3 separate regions of the Homo sapiens genome follow, and regions 1 and 2 are each linked to region 3. Evidence: promoter capture Hi-C in human tissues and cell types (Jung and others, 2019). All regions are on one chromosome and are shown on one strand. Each heading gives the region's core, a stretch centred on a gene start or on the middle of the fragment in contact. The rest is flanking DNA. Distances are from core to core; before and after follow the strand shown.

Region 1 (3,671 bases), core at 531-3,030, 410 kb after region 3:
TAAACTCAAGTTGCAAAACATGTTTTGCCTTGAAAAGTAAGAAATGATGTAATGCACGTCTCAATTAATTGAATAACTCTCTTTGTCTCTCGCTTCTGTAATATGCTTCCCCCTGCACAGATCTCCCCCGGCCCCACAAAATGCTTCAAAGGTAACTTAACTCTTTGTTCAGGGCTCAGTCCTTTGGGTGTTAATCGGACTGGGCTGGTGCAGCTAAATAATAAATATCCTCCTGAACCCCATCGGTCTCTCTGATTCCTTATCAATCTCGCTACAGTGTCGTTTGAGAAAAGAACTGAGCACCTTGATCACTGTCAGTAGCATCTGTAACCCCAAGGGAAGGGCGGGTCTTGGTGAAACCCTGTATTGTGGCTCAGCAGGAGAACGTCTGGTGGGATTGGTAAGGAATATTTGCATTTAAGTGGCTTCCGTGATCACAGTATACGGAATAGCCTCTGCAAAGGTGGGCGGGGACCCTATAAAATCTATTTGCTCTCAGCCCTACCAACAGGCTTCCAGGGATTATGCCTCCTTGATTATATGTCATTTGCCTGTAGACTATTCATCTGCCTGCACATTGAGCGCTCAGCTGTGGTGTTTGAGTTTTCATAGGTACACAGATATTCGTGACCTTGATTTTTACTTGAGAAACTGTGAGGCAAAATATCCCCAGAGTGCTTTAACCTCAAAATATTGACCTAGGATACAGTTGTTGCCACAGTTTTTTTTAAGTGTGTTTTCGGTTTTTTTGTTTTGTTTTGTTTTCTATGTTTTTGTTGTTGTTGTTGTTTTTGAGACGGAGTTTCCCTCTTGTTGCCTAGGCTGAGTGCAGTGGGGCAATCTCAGCTCACTGCAACCTCCGCCTTCCAGGTTCAAGCGATTCTTCCCCCTTAGCCTCCGAGTAGCTGGGATTACAGGCACCCACCACCACACCCGGCTAATTTTTTGTATTTTTAGTAAAGACAGGGTTTCATCATGTTGGCCACACTGGTCTCAAACTCCTGACCTCAGGTGATCCACCCACCTTGGCCTCCCAAAGTGCTGTGATTACAGGCATGAGCCACCGCGCCCGGCTGGCTAGACCATTGCTAATGGCTCAAGAGTTCAGTTCTAGCAATTGTGCTGACCCTAGTTAGGGAATGGTAAAGCTTTCGTTGGTCACTCACTTGACCCCATGGGCCTCCCCAGGTGTCTACTGGTCAGGAGAGAGAGGGGACCTCCTCCAGTGTCATGGAATCTGACAACAGACTGAGGACAGAAGAAGCTGCTTTTTTCTACGGTGGATACCCCAAGGGCCCAGGTTTCCCTCTAAGTCAGTACCACTTTCATTTCAGGAAGGAGACCACCGTGGATGGGGGCTGCTGCCTGCAGGACCCGAGACCTGAAAACTGACCAATCAGGCAGCTGGGGTGGGGCCTAGAGAACTGACCAATCAGGGGAGTTGAGGTGGAGCATCCGGATGAGAACTGTCAATCAGGGGGGTTGGGGCAGAGCCTGGAGACCTGTCAAATCAAAGGAGCTGAGGCAGGGCGTGGAAACATGACCAATTAGGAAAGCTGGGGTGGGGCCTGAAGAACTGCCCAATCAGGGGAGCTCAGGGGATAGCAAGCTGACCAACCAGAAGAGGAGGGGCAGAGTCTAAAGAACTGTCCAATCAGGGGAGTTGGGATGTGACTGGTGAACTCTCCAATCAGAGATGAGCAGAGAAGAGAACCATCCAATCACAGCCCCAGGGGCGGGGCGTTGCTGTCCTCCCTGCAGAGCACACCCGGCCTGCCCTGAGTGACCACAGGTGTCCCCGTCGTGCTCACCTGCACCGGCTGCGAGGAGCAGGGAGCTCCTCAAAGAGCTCAGGAACGGACAGGACATGGTGAGTGCAGGGCAGGAGCCGAGCCGGAGCCGGAGCCCTGGGAGGGGAGGGTTGGAAGCGGCCAGAACACGCTGAAACTCCCGGGGGAGCCGCCCGGAACCCCCATGCAGCCTCTGTCCCTGTGTCACCCCCGGGTCCTGCGGGGAGTTTCCTCCCCTGCCCCAGTCTTCATTCCCTGGAAAGTCGTAGTTGTCAGGACGCTGGGATGGAGGGGAAAAAAAGGCAGAAATGACTCCTGCCCTGTGGGGTCTCGCGAAGTTAATTGGAAGAAAAACTAACCCAAAGTACAAAAAACAAAACAAAAAAAAAAAAAACCTCACCCCAGCGAGGCGGTGCAACAGCCCCAAAGCAGAATGCGCTTTGGATGCAGACTTTGGGCCCAGGCCCACGTCCCTGGGAGGGGCGAGGGGTGGACAGGTGGTGCGGGCGCTCCACGTGGCGGCACGGGCTGGCCTGACCCCAAAGGCCCGCAGGCCGGACTCCAGCCCAGCCGCCCCTGCCTGGGCCTCTCTCCTTCTAAAGATTGATTTGGTTACTTGAGCCTCAGATTTTTTCAGTCAATGGAACATACAGTAAATAATAGAGTTTGAAAGATAAAATATTTCCAAGGAGGTGAATTTCAGAAAAAAATAAAGTTCTCGTCTTACATTCCATTTGTTAAAAATTCTAGCGTGCCTTTTTTTTTTCTTTTTATTTTCTGTTCCTTTTTTGCCCGTGTGGTTAAGTTTCTCACATCTGTTGTTTTATTTTCGGTGATGACAAATGGGATTCCAGGGCTTAGCCCTTGACGGGGCTCCCGGGAAAAAGAATCGCAGAGAAAGAGAGAAAATCTCTCTTTTATTATGACACGCCCCGAAATGAATACATTCCTACAAGAAAAAAATGTTTGGTATATAATTTGGTGAATTACAAAAACTCGCTAAAATATCAGTTATTCTCCTTTTCCAGGATGGAGAATTTGTGATAGATGATAATTCTGTTCTTTTATTTTTTGTTTTTATTTTTTGAAACGGAGTCTTGCTCTGTCACCCAGGCTGGAGTGCAGTGGCGCGATCTCGGCTCACTGCAACCTCCGCCTCCTGAGTTCAAGCGATTGATTCTCCTGCCTCAGCCTCCCCAGCAGCTGGGACTACAGGTGTGTGCCACCACGTCCAGCTAATTTTTGTATTTTTAGTGGAGACAGGGTTTTACCATGTTGGCCAAGCTGGTCTCCAACTCCTGACCTCAGGTGATCCACCCGCCTTGGCCTCCCAGAATGCTTGGATTACAGGCAGCATGTGCCACCATGACTAGCTAATTTTTTTTTTTTTTTCAGATGGAGCCTCGCTCTGTCACCCAGGCTGGAGTGCAATGGCGCGATCTCTGCTTACTGCAACCTCCGCCTCCTGGGTTCAAGCGATTCTCCTACCTCAGCCTCCCGAATAGCTGGGATTACAGGCACGTGTGGCCACACCCAGCTAATTTTTGTATTTTTAGTAGAGACGGGGTTCCACCATGTTGGCCAGGCTGGTCTCGAACTCCTGACCTCAGCTGATCCACCCACCTCAGCCTCCCAAAGTGCTGGGATTACAGGCGTGAGCCACCACACCTGGCCCCTTTATCACTCTTTTATATTCACTCATAGGGATATATTGTTAGTGTTCATTAATTCCACTGCTTGCTAGTGACTATTCGGGTATTTTCAAATTTTTTCCATTGTGACCAGTGCCCCTAAAGACATTATTACATGTGTGTCCACTTGAATGCCTTATTCTCAGCTGCACTGCAGTATATCCTCATCCTCTCCCCAAGAGCCTGGTCC
Region 2 (3,391 bases), core at 400-2,899, 260 kb after region 3:
GAACCTAAACAGGCAAATTCAAGTCCCTAAGCCTCCGTTTTCTCTTCTGTGAAATGCGAGCCACTGTTGGGGCAAGTAAGGTGACAAGGTGGAGAAAGGCCCTAGGCAGTGCCCTGTACAGCGGAGACCCCGATCACAATTGTGATCACAGTCACAAGGGCTTGGGGCCGGTGGGCAGGGCACTTGGCTGTGCCTGTTGGTTGCAAAGGCACCTTCTGGATTATCAAGGGTAACAGATTTGCCAGGAAAAGAAAAGAGGCTGATGAAAGCGCCAGCTGACACAGTCCCCAGTTGTGATGAGCCAGGCAAACTTCTGGGCGCCTCGGCAATGCCAACTCATGTGATTGGCTGCCGGGTTTGTGGACTACATGCATAGTAATTTCTCGGCATTCGGAGGAGGCTGGGGGTGCTGGTGGTGGGGGGGAGGCGGCCTGTGCTGCAGACCCTGCCCTTTCCTGGGTGGGCGCCCTGAGAGGCGGGCACGCTGCTGTGCAGAAAGACGCCACCAAGACCGGCCTGGGGTCCTAATGGCCATGGGTTCTGTGGACCCAGATCCAGCCTTTGCCTTGCTGCGGGCACTGAAGCTCCAGCCCCCATGAGCAGTACTGTCCTCCCCGCTGGGTCTGGAATCCCTGACCAGAAAGGCGCTTGCACTCAACAGCCCCGAAGCCCACGCCACTTCCCACCTCCACCGCCTGGGGGGTGCGGGTGGAGGGAGGGGGTCGTGGGCACCGAGGCAGGAGCAGGAGGGGCTGGCTCAAGGTCACAGAGCAGGGGGGTGGAGGCGCACAGCGGGGCTGGAAGCCCACCCTGCTTGGCTAGACTCCTGGGGTTTCCCGCCTGTGCGGGGCAGCCCACCCCCAGACGTCCAGGCAGGGCCAATCTACCCCAGCCCTGGGTCCCTGAAGCCCGGCTCCCGGCCGGGCACGGCGTGGTTGGTGGGGGCGGGGGTGTCAAAGCAAAGCTCAGGGTCAGGAAAGCAGAGAGAGCCGCGACCCAGGGGTCTAGCGGGGGTCACGCCTGACCAAGGGTGGGGCGGGGGTCTGACCCAGGGCCGCCTGGCCGGTGAGGGGTTTGATGGAGAAAGGGCCTGCTCTAGGGGGCCCGAGGGCGCAGAGGCACAGTGCGGGGCCAGCCCAGGGGCGACCCTTGACTCAGGAGGACCTCAGTGGTGGAGAGGAGGAGCCCACCCCGGGGAGGGGGCGCGGAGGGAGGGGCTTGGCTGGGCAGCGGGGCGGAGGGCGAAGAAGGCGGCTGCAGGAGGGAGGAGGCCCTGCCCGAGGGGACCAATGCGGAGAGGGGCGGCGGGGTGGGCCTCGGTGGGGCGGGCTCGGCAGGGGGGCGCCCTCCGGGTGGGGGAGGGGAGGCGGCCGGGAGCTGTCCAAGGTGAGCGCGGAGGGGCCGGCCGGGCCCGGCGGGAAGGGACGGGGGACGCCCGGCGAGGGGCCCCGGAGCCACGCGGGGAAGGGCCCGGCCCCAAGGCCCGGGAGGCTGGGGCCGGGACAAAGGAGGGACGCGCGGCGGGGAGGACGGCCGGCTGGGGGCTGCGCAGGGACCCCCTCCCCGCCCCGGGCCGCCTACCTGGGCCCGCTGGTCCCTGCGGCGCCGCGGCCGCTGCTCCTGCCCGCTCCGGTGTCCGCTGGCGCCGCCGCCCCCCGCCCGCCCGAGCCGCCGCAGTCGCGCCCGCGCCGTCCCCGCCCGCCGGGCCCCGCGCTCCGCCCCGCCCCGCCCCGCCCCGCCCCGCCCCGGGGACCCGCGCCCACGGGGCCGGCGCGCCGCCCGGCCAAGGTCACCGCCGCCCCACGCGGGACCCCTGCCCGCGCCCGGGGTGGGAGAGGTCGCCAGGATCCGGGACCCCCGCCCTGCCACGTAGCCACCTGCGCGCGCCCTCCCTCGGGGTGGGAGCTGGGGCCGCTTCCCGGGGAACCCCGAGTGGGGGCCAGGAGCCCGGCTTGGGAGGAGCAGAGTCCAGCCGGGGGTGGAGGGCTTTGGCAGAAATGCGGATAAAGGGGGTGCAGAACGGGACCCCTGAGGCCGGCTGGGGCCCGGTCACACGCAGGGCGGGGAATCAGAGGGGTGCGTTGTGAAATGAGTAAGTCGATAATCAACAATCAATGAACAGGTTTAGAAGCGGGCAGAGGCGGGAGGGTTCAGGTCAATGGGGTGCACCTGGAGGCCCACCCATCCCAGGGGCCTGGGCAGGGGCGGGATGGGGGCAGAAGCGGACTCAGCGCTCTGTAGGGCTGGTTTTGTGGAGGCGGAGGCAGCCCATGGCAGTCAGGCCTAGGGAGGTGGGGGGTGAGCAAAGGGGGCTGGCGCTGCTCTGCAGCGGATGGGTTTGCCGTTTTCGGTTAGGAAAATGTTTGTGTTCCCCCAACAGGAGGTGTCTTAGGGGAGCACTGGCTTTTCTGATGCGTCTGTGTGTCCACAAGAGACCATGGTTCCGCCTCCATTTTGGAGACCGGGAGGCCGAGGTTCCTTTTGGCCTCATCGGGCAGATCCCAGAGGAGACTGGACTTTGGGGTCTAGTGACCAGGCCAGAAGGTGCTCTCAGGGGTGGGTGCGGGACAGTCCCAGGCCGCAAGGCTGTCAGAGGAAGGCGCCCCTTGGTGGAGAGGCCAACTCTGGGACCCACAGGGGTCTCTCCAGAGTCAGAGCCATCAGTGGGTGAGAGGCTGGTCTGGAAGGTGGTGAGCTCCCCATCACCAGGCCTGTGAGCAGGTGAACCCCTTGGGCCCTCAGCTCCTGGGGTTCTCCATGACCCACCATTTCCATGGCCCTGGATGAGGTGGGCCCATCTGCCTCTGCGGAGACTTGGCACTGCCTCCAAGACCACTCAGTCCCCTCTCCTGTTGCCACTGAGGCTGGGGCACTGAGGTTCAAGCGGCTTTGGGGCTCAAGGAGCTCTATTTCTCCCTGATTTGACCCCACTCCCCCTCCTGGCCTCCAGACCCCTTCCTCCAGCCCTCCTTCCACTCTGCCACTCAATGCTCCAACTGCAACATGGGCCTCCCCTGCTCTAACGCCACCCATGGCTCCCTTCTCCCAGGCCAAGGTCCAGCTTCTCAGCCTGGCATCCATGGCCCGGCCTGAGTGCTCCTGGCGTGCACCTCCCTCCCACCCTGACCCCAGCCCTGCGGGAGCACCTCAGAGCATGGCCCGGCCCCTGACCCTCATCTGGGGGTGCCCTCAGCAGGAGATGGAGACAGCCCTGAGGGCAGACAAATCCCAGCTTCTGCTCTACATGGCTGCCTGCAGGGAAGTGCCTTCTCAAGCATCGGTTCCCCCATCTGTGAGTGACGTCACTGTTGCCCGCCTGTAGGGTTGCTGGGAACACATGGGCAGGGCGCCCACCTACACGGGGCTGCTGGGCACCCAAGCACTCAGACGG
Region 3 (3,563 bases), core at 488-2,987:
AGGGAGAACTGAGACCACGTGACTCACCCCAGAGACTCCAGGGAGACCCCCCACACACCCCATCTTGGGCCTCCTCAGAGGGCCTGGGCCCCCCAGTCTCCTTGGAGCCCAGAGACCACCCCCATTCCACCCCAGATACCCCAATACCCAGCTTCATCCCCAGAGACTCCCACTCACACCCCCTCAGTTGGGGGGGGTCCGCCAAGTCTCCTTGGAATCCTCTGAGGGACGAGGCATATGGGGGGCTGCAGCCCAATACTCAGGGAGCCCCCAAATCCCCAGGACCTCTCTTTGGTGGGGAGCCCTAGTCTGTAACCCCCATGGCCCCAAAATGCACCTCTCACGGAAGGGTCCCCAGAGCTAGCTGGAGGCCCCTCTGCAGCCCTCACTCAGGACACGGAAGATCTCCTGGGACCCCCTCCATAGGTGGGGCATTCCTGGTCTGCACTTTTCACTCAGTGCCCTAGAAACCCCCTGGAGGTCCCCAAGAGAATGGGCCACTCCGGTCTGCACCCCTCCCAAGGGGTCCCCCAAGATCTCGGAAACTGCGGTGGGCAGGGCCTGCCCAGGTGGCACCCCTCACTCAGGGTCTCCCCCTGGAGATCCCCGAGGCCAGGCTGACCCCACCCCTGCTCAGGGTCCCCCGTGATCGCGTACTCCGCGGTGGGCTGGGCCTGGCCGAGCTGCACCCCTCACTCAGGGACCCCTTGAAACCCCCTGGAGACCCCCAAGCCGGGACCCTTCCCGGTCTGCACCCCTGCCCAGGGTCCCCGCGATCGCGCACCCCGCGGTGGCCAGGACCTGCACCCTTCATCCAGGAGCCCCCCGCAAACCCCCTGGAGACCCCAAGCCGGGAGTCGTTCAGAGTCCCCCGCGATCGCGCGCCCCGTGGTGGGCGGGGCCTGGCCGAGTAGCACCTTTCACTCAGGGACTCTCCGAAACGCGGCGGAGATCCCCGAGGCCGGACTGTCCCCGTCTGCATCCCAGCTCAGGGTTCCCCGCGACTGGGAGCCCCGCAGTGGGCTGGGCCTAGCCGAGCAGCACCCCTCACTCAGAAGCCCCCAAACCTCCTGGAGACCCCCGAGCCGGAGCCTGTCCCCGTCTGCACCCCCGCCCAGGGTCCCCGCGATCACGCACCCCGCGGTGGGCGGGGCCTGGCCGAACTGCACCGCTCACTCAGGGGCCCCTCGAAACCCCCTGGAGACCCTCGAGACCCGGGCCCGTCCCTGTCTGCACCCAGGGTCCCAGCGATTGCCCACCCCGCGGTGGGAGGGACCTGGCCGAGCTGCACCCCTCACTCAGGGGCCCCCCGAAACCCCGCGGAAACCCCCGAAGCCGGGGCCCGTCCCCGTCTGCACCCCCGCCCAGGGTCCCCGCGATCGCGCGCCCCGCGGTGGGCGGGGCCTGCCGGCTGCACCCCCGCCCGGCCCCTAAGCCCCGGCGCCCACCTCGCGCGTGGTCACCTCCTCCTTCTCTGAGATCTTGAGCAGGAGCCGGTCGTTCTCCAGCTCCAGCGCGCGGACGCGGTCGATGTAGTGCGCCAGGCGGTCGTTGAGCTCGCGCAGCTCCTCCTTCTCCTGCAGCCGCGACAGGCGCGTGGGCGACAGCGGCGTGGCGGGCCCGCCCGCGCGGCCGGGCAGCGGCGTGGCCATGGTGGCGGCGGCTCGCGGCCTGCGCTGCTCCCGACGGCGGCCCGGGCTCGGCGGGCTCATTCAATCCGCGCCGCCGGCTGCAAGATGGCGCCGCGCCGCGCCGCGCCCGCCGCCCGCCGCGGCGGGGCAGCCTGGGACTGGTAGTCCGACCGCCGGGCGCGCGCGGGGCACGCCGGAAGTTGAAGTCTCCGTCCAGCTCTCGCTTCGCAGAGGCGCTGACTCCAGAGACAGACTTCCTGGCTGCAAACTCCCAGCTCCGCCACGAGGAAACAGCGTTGGGTTGCTTTCTAGTACCTGTTTCCCCACTTAGAGAACCTCAAAACGTGTTCAAAGAACCAGACACAAAAGGCCATATAGGGCCGGGCGTGGTGGCTCACGCCTGTAATCCCAGCACTTTGGGAGGCCAAGGCCGGTGGATCACTTGAGAAAAGAATTTCGAGATCAGCCTGGACCACATAGGGAGACCCCCCCACACCATCTCTACTACGGAGGCGCGCGCCGGTAATCCCAGCTACTTGGGAGGCTGAGGCAGGAGAATCTCTTGAACTTGGGACGTGGAGGTTGCAGTAAGCCAAGATCGCGGCACTGCACTCCAGCCTGGGCAACAATGAGAAACTTTGTCTCAAAAAAAAAAAAAAAAAAAAAAAAAAGCCATATAGTGTACAATGCCACTGATATAAAATGTCCAGAAGAGGCTGTCAAGGAGTATGAATTTCAACAAATTGAGTTTAATGATCTCATTGGCTCTTATTAGCAATTCATGAATTGGATAGCATTCAATCTATTAAATAGGCACTCCAATGAGCTGAGCAGAGAGGATGGGCATTCTGCATTACAGGCAGAAAAGGCTGAAGAAAGGAGAAATAAGAATTAAAATAAAAGCCAGGCCAGGTACAGTGGTTTGCTCACGCCTGTAATGCCAGCACTTTGGGAGGCGGAGGTGGGAGGATAGCCTGAGCCCAGGAGTTTGAGACTGGCCTGGGCAACATAGCAAGACCCCATTTCTAAAAATAAAAATAAAAAAATTAGCCAGGTGCAGTGGCTCACACCTGTATTCCCAGCACTTTAGGAGGCCAAGCCGGGCAGATCATGAGGTCAGGAGTTCGAGACCAGCCTGACCAATATGGTGAAATCCCGTCTCTACTAAAAATACAAAAATTAGCCAGGCATGGTGGCACATGCCTGTAGTCTCAGCTACTCGGGAAGCTGAGGCAGGAGAATTGCTTTAACCCGGGAGGCGGAGGTTGCAGGGAGCCAAGATTGAACCACTGCACTCCAGCCTAGGCAACAGAGTAAGACTCCACCTCAAAAAAAAAAAAAAAAAAAAATTAGCTGGGCGCCTATAGTCCTAGGTATTTGGGAGGCTAAGGTGGCAGGATTGTTTGAGCAAGAGAGGTCAAGGTTGCAGTGAGCCCTGATCACATCACTGCATTCCAGCCTGGGTGACAGAGTGAGAGTTTGTCTCAAAAAAAGTAAAAATAAAAATACGAAATAAAAACCAATTGGTTGTTTCAAAGTTACTTTTTTCATAGGGTCTGTTTTAACCCCCTCTATTTTGAGGGTACTTCCCTATCAGGTTAACCGGTCCCCTTTGGCTTGGTGGCTGTGAATGTTTTTTTTTGAAAACCTGCACCCTTTAAAGTTCAGTTTGAGGCCAGGTACGGGTGGCTCTCACCTGTAATCTCAGCACTTTGGGAGGCTGAGATGGGGAGATCGCTTAAGCCTAGGAGTTTGAGAACATCCTGGGCAACATAGTGAGACTCTGTCTCCAAAAAAAAAAATTTTTTTTTTTTGGAGACAGAGTCTTGCTCTTGTCACCCAGGCTGGAGTGCAATGGCATGATCTCGGCTCACTGCAACCTCCACCTCCTGGGTTCAAGCAATTCTCTGCCTCCCGAGTAGCTGGGATTAC

What was found. The method cuts DNA at HindIII sites, captures the fragments that hold promoters and counts their contacts. A contact is called where the count stands out against the background at its distance.
Region 1: the fragment with the promoter of ZNF556 here is called in contact with the fragment with the promoter of LMNB2 in region 3 in 3 of the 25 tissues and cell types used here (dorsolateral prefrontal cortex, lymphoblastoid cells and spleen).
Region 2: the fragment with the promoter of DIRAS1 here is called in contact with the fragment with the promoter of LMNB2 in region 3 in 4 of the 25 tissues and cell types used here (IMR-90 fibroblasts, aorta, dorsolateral prefrontal cortex and 1 more).

The regions. Positions count from the first base shown.
Region 1 is chr19:2,865,555-2,869,225 of GRCh38, forward strand. ZNF556 (zinc finger protein 556) reads left to right here and starts at 1,781. Exons shown (of 4, transcript NM_024967.3): 1 at 1,781-1,870. The coding sequence starts at 1,868. The HindIII fragment of the contact is 10,595 bases long and covers 1-3,671 here.
Region 2 is chr19:2,719,723-2,723,113 of GRCh38, forward strand. It overlaps DIRAS1 (DIRAS family GTPase 1), which reads right to left and starts at 1,650. Exons shown (of 2, transcript NM_145173.4): 1 at 1,582-1,650. The HindIII fragment of the contact is 24,571 bases long and covers 1-3,391 here.
Region 3 is chr19:2,455,222-2,458,784 of GRCh38, forward strand. LMNB2 (lamin B2) reads right to left here and starts at 1,738. Exons shown (of 12, transcript NM_032737.4): 1 at 1,449-1,738. The coding sequence starts at 1,712. RefSeq lists an enhancer at 1-466 and silencers at 727-906, 1,137-1,226, 1,287-1,536, 1,657-1,836. The HindIII fragment of the contact is 70,551 bases long and covers 1-3,563 here.